Linked DNA regions of Homo sapiens: all the other regions are linked to region 3. Evidence: promoter capture Hi-C in human tissues and cell types (Jung and others, 2019). All regions are on one chromosome and are shown on one strand. The core of a region is centred on a gene start or on the middle of the fragment in contact, and the rest is flanking DNA. Distances in the headings are between cores, read along the strand shown. Region 1 overlaps CLTA (clathrin light chain A). Region 2 has its middle 10 kb from the start of HRCT1. Region 3 holds the start of RECK (reversion inducing cysteine rich protein with kazal motifs).

Region 1 (4,239 bases), core at 1,531-4,030, 160 kb after region 3:
ATGAGAGGAAAATAAACTGGCCCCAGCCTTGCGGAAAGCGTCTATGGAGGATGGGCACAGGCAAAAACCAGAGGGGTTAGGGCTAAGCCTTGGATGACTCCTTTGGTTGTTAAGAGATCCAGAAAAGAGACGTAGGTTTAGAGGCAGGAAGAAACCAGCTGGGTGAAGTGATATTGAGGTAACCAGCTGTGGGGGATATTGAGGAAGAACAGGTGGTCATGAAGGAGGCAGCACAAGTGGAGCTGTTGAAAAGCTCTCAATCATGAGGGCTGAGTCGGGGAAGAGAACAGGAGAGACAAGCCACAGAGAGAGTACAGCAGTAAGGCACTATTATGGTGTTTTGTTGTTTTTGAGACAGTCGCTCTGTCACCCAGGCTGGAGTGCAGTGGTGCGATCTCGGTTCACTGCAACCTCCGCCTCCTGGGTTCAAGCAGTTATCCTGCCTCAGCCTCCCGAGTAGCTGGGATTACAGGCGCCCACCACCGTGCCCAGCTAACTTTTTGTATTTTTAGTAGAGACGGGGTTTCACCATGTTGGCCAGACTGGTCTGAAACTCCTGACCTCAGGTGAGCCACCCGCCTTGGCCTCCCAAAGTGCTGGAATTACAGGTGTGAACCACCGCACCCGGTGACAAGTTATTTCTTGTAGGAGAAGAAAGAGACATGGGTGAATTAAAGGGAAGCTTTCTGGAGAAGTAATTTTATTGGTAGCAGTGGTGGAGGGAAGTTTAGGGAAATCTCATGCATGATAGTTAATTGTACTGCACATTTGCTGTATACCAGGTACACTTTCAGATCCCAGCAGTAGCTCCACAGGTTAAGTGGTAGTGTCATATTTCAGATGAGAATGGATCGGTGTGGAAGTTGAGCAGTGTCACTAAGGTAGCAAGGTAATAAATGGCTCAAGTGCAGCTTCAAACGTAGGTCTGCTTGACTTCAAATGTTTCTGGAATGTGGAAAGTTGAAAGTGGGTTTGGGACAGTCTTTCACTTTTGAAAACTGGCCCTTTTTCTGTCTGGAGTTCCTGAAAGGCCCTAGAAAGTTTCCTTCTGAAGCATCGTGTTGCTTAGTTTAGTTGTTGTAGTAAGTCAAGGCCCTACATGTCCTTTCTGCATGTTTCCACAGCAACAGACGATCCCTTGGCTTGAGCCAGTTGATTCTTGTAAGAATGTTAGTGCAGTAATACAGTAACTAATAAAGAGGAAAGCAGATGCCAGTGGGTCTGGAGGAGCCTTCAGACAGCATGTGATTTTTAAGGAGATGTGGGATGAGGATTGCTTCTTGTTTTGTATATGGAGTAGTGATCAAAGTCTCTCATATTCCAGCCCAGGGCTGGACTATATTAGTGGATAGTTGGTATGTCAATTGTACTATATTAACCATAATGTAGGCCTGGCCAGACTAGCCACTGTAGGATCTAGGATTTAAAACTATCTCACTCTTCTGTCTTACACAAAAATAAATTCCAGGTGGATTAAAGAGAGACATTTAAAAAGTAAAAGAAGAAAAGTGAGTATTTGTCTATCTCATAATAGGAAAGGCCTTCAGCATAAAAGCAGATACAGAAATCATGAAGAAAAAGTCGATCATGTCTACATACACAAATTAAGTTGTTCCAAGTGTTAAATACCATAAACCAAATCAAAAGAGAAACTAGGGAAAATATTTGACTATTAGAGAGCAAATACTTAGAGATCAAAAAATAGCAGGAAAATAGGCAAACTCAGAAAATTCAGTAAAGAAGAAAATCAGGTGTCGGGTATGTGATTACCTCACTGGAAATAAGATTGGCACAACAAAGCCACCATGAGTTTGTTTTTTTTTTCCATTATCAAATTAGCAAAAATTTTAAAACATGATCAAGCACAGTCCCTAGTATCAGGGAAGGTCTAAGAAATGGGGCACTTGTGCTGCTAGTAGTAATATAAACTGGTAGACTAATAGGAACAAGTGGGTAGAATTTTAGAAGTCTTTGAAATACATATCCTGGGCCAGGTGCGGTGGCTCACGCCTGAAATCCCAGCACTTTCGGAGGCTGAAGTGGGCGGATCACCTGAGGTCAGGAGTTTGAGACCAGCCTGACCAACATAGTGAAACCTCGTCTCTACTAAAAAATACAAAAATTAGCCGGGCATGGTGGCACGTGCCTGTAATCCCAGCTATTCGGGAGGCTGAGGCAGGAGAATCACTTGAACCTGGGAGGCGGAGGTTGCAGCAAGCCGAGATCGCGCCAGTGTACTCTAGCCTGGCCAACAGCGTGAGACTCCGTCTCAAAAAAAATAAAAAAATACATATCCTGGCTGGGCGCAGTGGCTCATGCCTGTAATCCCAGCACTTTGGGAGGCTGAGGTGGGTGGATCGTCTGAGGTCAGGAGTTCGAGACCATCCTGGCCAACGTGGTGAAACCCCCGTCTCTACTAAAACTACAAAAAAAATTAGGTGGGCATGATAGCTCACGCCTGTAGTCCCAGCTACTCAGGAGGCTGAGGCAAGAGAATCACTTGAACAACCCAGGAGGTGGAGGTTGCAGTGAGCCAAGATTGCACCACTGTACTCTAGCCTGGGCAACAGAGCAAGACTCTCTCTCAAAAAAAAATAAAATACATATCCTGTGATCCAGCAATTCCTTTTTTTTCTTTCTTTTTTCTTTTTTTTTTTTTTTATTTTTTGAGATGGAGTCTCGCTCCGTCACCCAGGCTGGAGTGCAGTGGCGCGATCTTGGCTCACTGCAACCTCTGCCTCCCGAGTTCAAGCAATTCTCCTCTTTCAGCCTCCTGAGTAGCTGGGATTACAGGCTCATGCCACCACCCTGGCTAATTTTTGTATTTTTAGTATATGGAGGTGGGTTTCACCATGTTGGCCAGGCAGGTCTTGAACTCCTGACCTCGAGTGATCCTCCCACCTTGGCCTCTCAAAGTGCTGGGATTATAGGTGTGAGCCACCGCGCCCAGCTGTAACCCAGCAATTCTACACCAAGAAATTTATTACAGAGGCGAAATTGAATATGCTTCCCCCATGCTTTCACTAGTTTGATAAACTTCATATTTCCAAAACTTTATAGAGTGCTTAAAAAACTACATAGGTAGGTGGCACATGCCTTAAAGTGGTAAAAGGCCACTGACAAACTATAAGAAACTCATTTTTGTACTGACATATAGGAGTAAAAGTCAACTAGGAAAATTAAGAAAAATATGAGAGGCCAGGCATGGTGGCTCATGCCTGTAATCCAATACTTTGGGAGACCGAGGCGGGTGGATCGCTTGAGTCCAGGAAATCGATAGCAGCCTGGGCAGCATGGCGAAACCCCCTTCCTACAAAAAAATAGAAAAATTATCCAGGCGTGGTGGCGCATGCCTGCAATCCCAGCTCCTGTGGGGACTGAGGTGGGAGGTTCGCTTGAGCCCAAAAGGTCGAGGCTACAGTAAGCCATGATTGGGCCACTTTGCTCCAGCCTGGGCGACAGAGCAAGACTGTCTCAAAGATGAAGCTGCAGGTCTCTGCTCACTATGGGTGATTCCAGGCCACACTTTTTTTTTTCCCTCATGCAGAATTTTCATAGAGAAACACTGTTCTCTTTCTGCTAGTCTTCCATTTGTTACCACTGTAAAATAGAAAACAGAAAATAAAATCAAAAGCTTTTGGACTTGGGAGCTTAAGGACAGATGTGTACACATTTTGGTGAAATTTGTATATAAGCACATCTTGGTTTTATTTGTTGTATATAGCACCTACCACAGGGATAGCATTTAGTAGCTCAAGGTTCATACAGCATATGATGCTGTATTCTACTGTACAACCCTTTGGCCCAGTGTTTGACCAGTCCTTATTGATAGACCAAAATCTTATGTCTTGCAGATGCTGTTGATGGAGTAATGAATGGTGAATACTACCAGGTACAGAGTACTCTGATTCTGTTCATTGATAGTGATTGAGAATCTTCCTTTCCTGTGATTTTAATTGACTGACCTAGAAAGAAACCCCAGTCCTTTGACTTTCCTGAATGTATTACTGGCTGGTGTGTTATCTACCAAAGTGGAAAGATTTAAAGAGAGGTAGCATTGATAAAAAGAGAACTGTTTAAAAATGTTATTTACCTGCCCCTAGTGTTATCACCTTTATTCTAAAGAAATCACCATTCAAATGATACTGTGTTGAGTGCAGTAAGTTAATACTAATACTTTAAATAATTCTCCTTCCATCTTTGTTTATAGTCTGATTAGGTTAACCTGGTAATATTAAT
Region 2 (4,383 bases), core at 716-3,215, 140 kb before region 3:
CAAACATATAGAAACGTTGAAACATAGAGAAAAGTTCAAACATATTTCAAACACACAGAAAGGTTGAAATAATTGTACAGTTGAATATACCTAACACTAGTCTCTATAATTAACTACTTGCTACAGTTATCAGATATCAATTTGTCTATCCAACCATCTCTCCATAACATTTTTTGATTATTGTCTACTTTTTAGAAGTGTTTCTTTTTATATGTGTGTAGGACAGGTTGAAAACCCACTCAGGAAATTATTATCTCTTTGAACATTGTTCTACAAAAGCTTAATCAGGAGCTTTTTCAAATTTCAGGGCAAAAGAACTTGAAAGCTTCTCTCCTTTTCCTCTTTATTATCCTCTTATGCCTGTGTCCTGATTTTCCTCTCCTGTGGATTCTCGGAGACATGACTTCTCTTTCCCATCAGAGAGCAAGCTTTCTGAGTGAAGCATCATACTCGGTTACATCTCTCAGCCTAGCACAATATTGTTCTGGGTTAGAGGTAGGCTTTGGGGTCAGACAGGTCTGCACTTGATTCTGGCTCTGTCATTTACTACTGCGTGACCCAGAATGGGTGCTTTATTTATTTATTTGTTATTTTGGGGGACAGAGTCTCACTGTATCCTCCAGGCTGGAGTGCAGTGTCACGATCTCGGCTCACTGCAACCTCTGCTCCCAGGTTCAAGCGATTCTCCTGCCTCAGCCTCCTGAGTAGTTGGGATTACACACCCAGCTATTTTTTTGTATTTTTAGTAGATATGGGGTTTCACCATGTTGGTCAGGCTGGTCTCGAATTCCTGATCTTAGGTGATCCACCCACCTTGGCCTCCCAAAGTGCTGGGATTACAGGGGTGAGCCACCATGCCGGGCAACAGTGAGAGCTTTAACTCTCTAAGCCTCCTATGTAATGTGAGGACAATAGGTTTGTTGTGAGATCTAAAGATACATTTGTAAAGTGTAATTATTCTAGCAATTATTAAAATAGTTGGGGAGGAAAAGGAAAGGAGATTATTGCTTATGAATGACTCCTTTTGTGCTTTCCTTGTGAATATTTAGGTCCCAGAATTTACCCAGTGTGTTGTAATAATTTATATTTCTGTCTCCTGTCCTAGGTAAAAAGCTCTTGGAAGGCATGGATTGTCTTTTTTCTACCCAGCCTCAGCACCAGGCACAGAGTCTAGTTCAACAGATGTTAGTTATATCAATGAATATAATTCTAAGTGTCACAATTATCTTTAGATAATGATTTCAGAAAATTACAGAGACTTGAAAATCCAGAGAGCAATAAATCTTAGACTGCACAGATTCAATCTGTCTCCAGTTCTTCCCTCGTTGTGCATGAGGGCAAACTTAGGCTCAAGAAAGTTCACTATGTTTACTGCATATACATGTCTCAAAGCCCATGGACATGCTGCCCAGGGAAGGCAGGAGAAGCAGTCCCCTTGGATTAATCAGCTCCCACACATCCCCAAGGACAGTGAATCTAGGAGACCTCTTCCACCTGTTGGCATCTTTTTTTTTTTTTTTTGAGACAGAGTCTCGCTCTGTCACCCAGGCTGGAGCACAGTGGCGCGATCTCGGCTCACTGCAACCTCTGCCTCCCGGGTTCAAGCGATTCTCCTGCCTTGGCCTCCTGAGTAGCTGAGACTACAGGCGCACGCCGCCACACCTGGCTAATTTTTTTGTATTTTAGTAGAGATGGGGTTTCATTGTGTCGCCCAGGCTGGTTGCGAACTCCTGAGCTCAGGCAATCCGCCGCCCTTGGCCTGCGAAAGTGCTAGGATTGCAGGCATGAGCCACCGCGCCTGGCTGGCATCTTTAAAATGACACCAATGAAGCTTATGATTCTGGGGTCTAGCTGCTCTCTTCGTTGGTGAATAGGTGGATCACTTTGCAGACCTGTTCTACTTGGTGGGCATGCTTCTGAATATTTTTCTAAAGGTGCTGTAACTTTTGTTGCTTTCATTATTATACAAGTAAAATGTTTATTGTTGCAAGTTTTAGAAATGTAGAAATGCCAAATAAAAAGCAGTCACCTGCAAACTCACTGCTCAGAGGAAGCCCTATAAAGATTGCATCTTGTAGCTCTTCAGACTTCTGTCTGTGCGTGTTTATAGGTGTAACACAAACATTGCCAGCACTAACCACCCTGCATGTACAAATGAGGTCACATTTTCATGAATTCCTAGATTTTGCAGACCACACTCCCCATCCAAATAACATCAGTGCCTCAGTGTATTCACCTCTAGCCCTGTCTTCCTGTAGCCTTCCCCATTTGTTTTTGAAGCTCCCTAGCAGCTGCTGCACACATTTTGCACTTCATGCCTTTCTTCTCTCTCCTTCCCATCATCCTTTGGGGCCAGAAGGAACCAGGCTTCTCCCAGGCCTGGATATCATGGCCTCCATCTACCTTAGAGCTTCAAACTTCGGCTACATGGCTGTCGCATGTGGAATGGAGGAGCTTTCTACGTTATAGGAGATCTGCATGGGCTGGGTCCTCGTTTGGTCCTTGATTCAGTGTGTTGAAAGGGAGAGAAAAAAGAATTTGGAAAATCCTCTTAGGAAACTGGCTTGACTTACAGGGCAAAGTCCAATTTTGAAGGTCAAAGACTGCATGCATATTAAAGTCCTTCTCCTTGCATTCTTTTTGTAATAATTCAACTCTCTCTCCAGACAAATGCTCTGGAACAACTAGGAAGAAACTTACATATTTGGAAAAGTAACTTTAAAGAGCAGGTTATCAGTCTAGGCAACATAGCGAGACCACGTCTCTACAAAGAATAAAAAAGTTAGCCAGACGTGGTGGCACACACCTGGAGTCCCAGCTACTTGGGAGGCTGAGGCGGGAGGATTGTTTGGGAGGAGGTAGAGGCTGCAGTGAGCTCTGATCATGCCACTGCACTCTAGCCTGGGCAACAGAGCAAGATCCTATCTCAAAAAAAGTATATTACTACTTTTCAAAAATATTACCTCTATAGCATATAAGAATTTATTTAACAGATGCTTGTGGCAGGTTGTTTGCAAGTCTCACAGGATCCATATCCCCTGAAGTGCAGCCTGGACTATAATGCGGGCTCCTCCCTTTCAGACACATGGTGTGGTGCTTCGGTTAGTCAGGTCTTCTTTCACAGCTGTCAGTGAAGACTTGCTTTTTCTTTTGTTCATTGGTCTTCCACATCTCTTGTTAAGTTTATTCTTGTTTGTTCTTAGAAGTTTTATAATTTTTGTTTTAAGTTTCAATAATGCCTTCATTCTGTCTTTGAATTAGTAATTACTGTTATGTAGGAAAATCACCGATTTTGTATTTTTATTTTTAAATTTTAGAATCTAAATTTATTATTATTATTATTATTATTATTATTATTATTTAGAGATGGGATTTCACCATGTTGGCCAGGGTGGTCTTGAACTCCTGGAGTCAAATGATCTGCCTGCCTTAGCCTCCCAAAGTGCTGGGATTATGGGCATGAGCCACTGCTCCTGGTCAAAAATTTAAATTAAGTTTTATTTAAAAATTTGAATTTTTAAATTAACTCTTATTAGTGTTAATAGTTCTCCAGTATATTCTTTCAAGTTTTCCAGATATGTAGTCACATCATCTCTAATATTTCTACCTTTTATTATACATTGTTATTGTATTAAGCTAACTAAAAATGGTGGAAGTAAGCATTCTAGCTTGTTCCTGGTTTCAACAGGAATCTCAAAGTGCTGGGATTACAGGCCTATTTTTTTTCACCATTAATCATGATGTTGACTACTGGTTTGAGATATTTTTCCTTTTAATAATGTTAAAAGAGTATCCTCCTAATAGTACACTTTTTTTGTTTTACTCATTTGCAACACAGGAGTACCTTGGAGGTACTGCAGGTTCAGTTCCAAATCACTGCAATAAAGTGAGTCATACCAATTTTTTGGTTTCTCAGTGCATAAAAAATTATGCTTACACTATCCTATAGTCTATTATGTGTGCATTAGCATTATGTCTAAAAAGTACATATCTTAATTTAAAAATACATTATTGGCTGGGTGCAGTGGCTCATGCCTGTAATCCCAGCACTTTGAGAGGCTGAGGTGGGCAGATCATGAGGTAAGGAGTTTGAGACCAGCCTGGCCAACATAGTGAAACCCCATCTCTACTAAAAATACAACAACAACAAAAAATTAGCCGGATGTGGTGGCACGCACCTGTAGTCCCAGCTACTCCACAGGCTGAGGCAGGAGAATCGTTTGAACCTGGGAGGCAGAGGTTGCAGTGAGCCGAGACCACGCCATTGCACTCCAGCCTGGGCAACAAAGGGAGACTCCATCTCAAAAAAACAAATACCTTATTGCTAAAAAATGCTAATGATCACCTGAGCTTTCAGTGATTTGTAATATTTTCGCTGGTAGA
Region 3 (3,960 bases), core at 531-3,030:
TAAAATAAATTAAAATGAAGACCAGGTCTGCAGAATTCCTGAGCAGATAGTCAATTTAGTCCTCATAAGTGACCTTAAACTTACTTGAGTTAATCTGAGCTATTTCTTGTAAATGCATATATTAAAGAAAAACAGAACAAGCTCAACCAATCAGAAGTAGTCCACAAACTTGTATAACTAGAGGCTTTTTAGTGGGATAGACCAAATAAGGCAACTTTATAACTGTAACCAATCAAATATTTTCTTTTTATTACTTTCCCATTCACTCTGTAAAAATCTGCTTCTTCGACAGAGCTGAGCCCCAGAACCACTTCTGGTTTGCAGCTTCTCAATTCATGAATCACCGCGTGCTGAAGTAAACTTTAAAATTTTATTGTGCCTCAGTTTACCTTGTACACAGAAGCAACAGAGTCATCAGAGGAGATGTTTTAGATATTTTAACTTATTCATGTTTTCCTTTTGTAAACTCGAAAGAGAGGATAAATGTAAGAGCCCAAAAACATAAAAACCAACTTTAATATATGGATTTTGTTTAGAACTTGAAAAATTGTAAAAAGAAATCATGAGACAATAAGAAAAATGTAAATAATGACTGGATATTTAATAATATTAAGGAATTTTAAAAATGTTTTAAGTAATTTAGCCCCAGGTGTCTTCATGAGAATTTAAAACGGTGGTCATGCTTTTTCAAAAAAGGAGGAAAAAGGGTTTAATTCAGGAACACACAGAGAAAAAAAGAGACAATGAATTAGCTTTGCTAGCCAGTGGCTTAAACATTCTCCACGTAGCTGCTGGGCTGATGGGTGGGGTGGGACCCACTTCCAACTTGTCTCTTGGACAAAGTCTATACTTCTCAGCCGGATATTCAAGGCTTTCCACATCTAGGTATACAAGCGTTCTCCTATCCTCTTTTCCTATCAGGAATAGGTGCTTAATAGTAACATCAAGGCCAGGCACAGTGGCTCACGCCTGCAATCCCCGTACTTTGGGAGGAGGAGGCTGGGGGATTGCTTGAGGCGAGGAGTTCGAGACCAGCTTGAGAAATATGGTGAAACCCCTTCTCTGCAAAAAAAATATAAAAATTAGCCAGGCGTGGTCACCTGCGCCCGTGGTCCCAGCTATTCAGGAGGCTGAGGTGGGAGGATCGCTTGAGCCCGGGAGGCGGAGGTTGCAGTGAGCCGAGATCGCGCCACTGCACCCCAGCTTGGGCGACAGAGCGACTCTTGCCTAAATAAATAAATAAATAATTTTTAAAGTACAACAAAGACACATTGAGGCTATAGTGCCAAAGAGCTCTAGTGATGAACCCTTGTCAGGGGGCCGTGTCTGCGGGAGGCCGAAGGATCCCGGGTGACATGCTTTCTTTGGGTGCGAGGCAGCGTCTCGGCAGAAAGAATATTGCGAGTATTACTGAGGGTACATGAAGGAGAGAAGCCCCTTTGGTTCGGCCTTGGACTAAGCCCTTGTTCTCAGGTGAACTTGCAGTGTGATCTTGAGTAAGGTCAGTCTCCTCTCTCACCTCAGTGGCCCGAAACCTCAGGAGGTGGCAGAGGTTTTCTAATGACTCTCCCAGCTCTGACATCCTCTGACTTCACTCTGGGAGAACGTGGGCTGGTGGACTCCTGGCAGAAGCCGACACACAGTTGGGCCATAACAAAGAGCCCTGGTACGGGGCACGTTCCCGCCCCCGGGAGGTTTTGGAAACACTGTGAGGCAGGGGGCGGGGCTTGAGCGGGCCGCAGCCAGTCACCAAAGGGCCGGGCGCTGGGGGCGGGGCCTCGCGCGAGCGGCGGCGGTAGCGGCGGCAGCGGCTGCGGCCAAGCTGGGTCCGAGCATCCCGCGGCTCTGGAGCCGCCCGGCCCGGACATGGCGACCGTCCGGGCCTCTCTGCGAGGTGCGCTGCTCCTTCTGCTGGCCGTGGCGGGGGTCGCGGAGGTGGCAGGGGGCCTGGCTCCGGGCAGTGCGGGTGAGTAACCTCCAGAGCAACGGTTCGAAGCTGTCGGGAGCGGCCGCCACAGCGCTCCAAGATGGCGCGGGGCAGGGGGCGGGGGTGCGCGCGACCCCCAGACCCTGCCCACGTCCGGCGACCCCGGGACCCCAGGTCTCAGCGCTCCAGAGGCTGGTGCCGAGGCGGGGCGAGTGAGGAACTCTCTCCGCCCCAAGATCTTCTGGGCGGTGACTCGGGTTTGAGGCCTTGGTCTGTCACCCACCGACACGGGCCCCCTCTTCGGCACTGACCCCTTCGCTTGCCTCTGCTGCTTGTCAGAAAAGGGTGCGATGCCCCCGCCCAGGATCGTCGCGAGGTTTAGATGGGATTTCGGATACGCAGCCGCCCTACCGCGGCCCTAGTTAGTTATTGTTACTTGTTACTTGACCCGCACTTGGTTCATAACGACCTTGGTGGCGGTGAGCACTGACGGTCCCCACAGCCCGCGTGGTGGGTCCTGGACTCGGGCAGGAGACATTAAAAATCAGTAAACCCTGTCCCCCGGGGGCTGGCAGGCTTGAGGAGAGAAATTCTTGCTCTACAAGAACTAAACCAAGGATGGATAGGAAACTGTTAAGTGCTTATTGATTGCTTCCCGCTTGCTGGCCTTTTGAGTGCACGCCGACTCCTTCCGTCCAAAAGCTCTCTCGGTAGGAGATGGGGTACAGCAGGAGATTGAAGTAACTCGAATTCAAGGCAGAAATGTCCAGAGGAAATGAAGGGCCATGTATGAGTGCACAGAGGGAGAGAGGACATCGACCTAGGATGAGTGGAAAGTGGAGTGATTCCCCCTAGCTGTACTAGACATTGAAAGATGGCTAGGACGTGTGCATGCAAAAGTGGTGAAGTGCATTGCTTACAGGGAGACAGGCAGAGACACCTTAAAAAAAAAAAAAAAAAAAGCAAAGTCAGCCGGGTGCGGTAGGCTCTCCCCTGTAATCCCAGCACTTTGGGAGGTGGAGGCGGGCGGATCCCTTGAGCCCAGGAGTTCGAGGCCATCCTGCTTAACATAGTGAAACCCCGTTTCTACTAAAAATACAAAAATTAGCCGGGCATGGTGGTGTATGCCTGTTGTTCCAGCTACCCGCGAGGCTGAGATACGAGGATTGCTCGAGCCCCGGGAAGTTGAGGCTGCAGTGATATGCCACTGCCCTCGGAAGTGAGACCCTGTCTCAAAAAAAAATCAAAGTCAGTTCCAACAGGGGTATTAACTATAGCTAGGTTTCAAATTTAGCTGTAAACTATCCCAAAGAATAAAAGAGAAAATGCTGTGTATTCTTGGCTAAATCAGATTACTTTCCTGGGCCCCATTTTTCTCCCTGTTAAATTAAAAGAGATTGAACTGAAACACTTACAAAATTATGAAATACTAGTTGTCCATTCTCCTCCCACAACCAGTCAGTTCTGCAGGAGGTAGTACAGTGGAGTGGTTAAGAACATTGAGCAAATTACTTAGCTTTAATCTTTTTGTGCTCAAATAGCCACATTTATTATAAATGGTACCTCACAGATTTTATTATGAGAATCGAGGTAATACATGTCCAGCATTTAGCGTAGTAAGCAGTGAAATATTAGCTATTAAGTATGTTCGGGAAATACTGCAGATGGTACCCTGTCTTATAAATTCACAAAACACATTAGATTCACAATAAAGGGTCCAAGGATTCCTGTGGTAAAACAAACAAACAAACAACAAAAAAAAAAACAAGAAACTTTTTTGCTGGGGGAATGGCAGTGATTGCTAATGAGTATGAAGTTTCTTTTGGGAGTAATGAAAATGTTCTAAAATTAGATAGTGGTGATGGCTACACAACTCTGTGAATATACTAAAAACAACTGAATTGTACATATTAAAAGGGTTAATTTCATGGTATACAAATTGTAGCTCAATAAAGTTGTTAAAGAAAGAAACTTGTTTGCTCATAAAATTCTTTTTTTCTTCATAACACCTAAAGCGCACTTCAGAAAATGCT

Evidence for each region. The method cuts DNA at HindIII sites, captures the fragments that hold promoters and counts their contacts. A contact is called where the count stands out against the background at its distance.
Region 1: a contact is called between a fragment that was not itself captured here and the fragment with the promoter of RECK in region 3, in 2 of the 25 tissues and cell types used here (dorsolateral prefrontal cortex and mesendoderm cells).
Region 2: a contact is called between a fragment that was not itself captured here and the fragment with the promoter of RECK in region 3, in 4 of the 25 tissues and cell types used here (IMR-90 fibroblasts, aorta, lymphoblastoid cells and 1 more).

The regions. Positions count from the first base shown.
Region 1 is chr9:36,193,697-36,197,935 of GRCh38, forward strand. CLTA (clathrin light chain A) reads left to right here. Exons shown (of 5, transcript NM_001833.4): 2 at 3,855-3,892. Among named protein-coding and RNA genes, the nearest start is that of CLTA, 4.9 kb to the left of the region's middle. The HindIII fragment of the contact is 6,945 bases long and covers 1-4,239 here.
Region 2 is chr9:35,893,698-35,898,080 of GRCh38, forward strand. No RefSeq gene overlaps it. Among named protein-coding and RNA genes, the nearest start is that of HRCT1, 10 kb to the right of the region's middle. RefSeq lists an enhancer at 1,693-2,192. The HindIII fragment of the contact is 7,635 bases long and covers 1-4,383 here.
Region 3 is chr9:36,035,133-36,039,092 of GRCh38, forward strand. RECK (reversion inducing cysteine rich protein with kazal motifs) reads left to right here and starts at 1,781. Exons shown (of 21, transcript NM_021111.3): 1 at 1,781-1,966. The coding sequence starts at 1,867. RefSeq lists silencers at 1,701-1,900, 1,911-2,060. The HindIII fragment of the contact is 17,807 bases long and covers 1-3,960 here.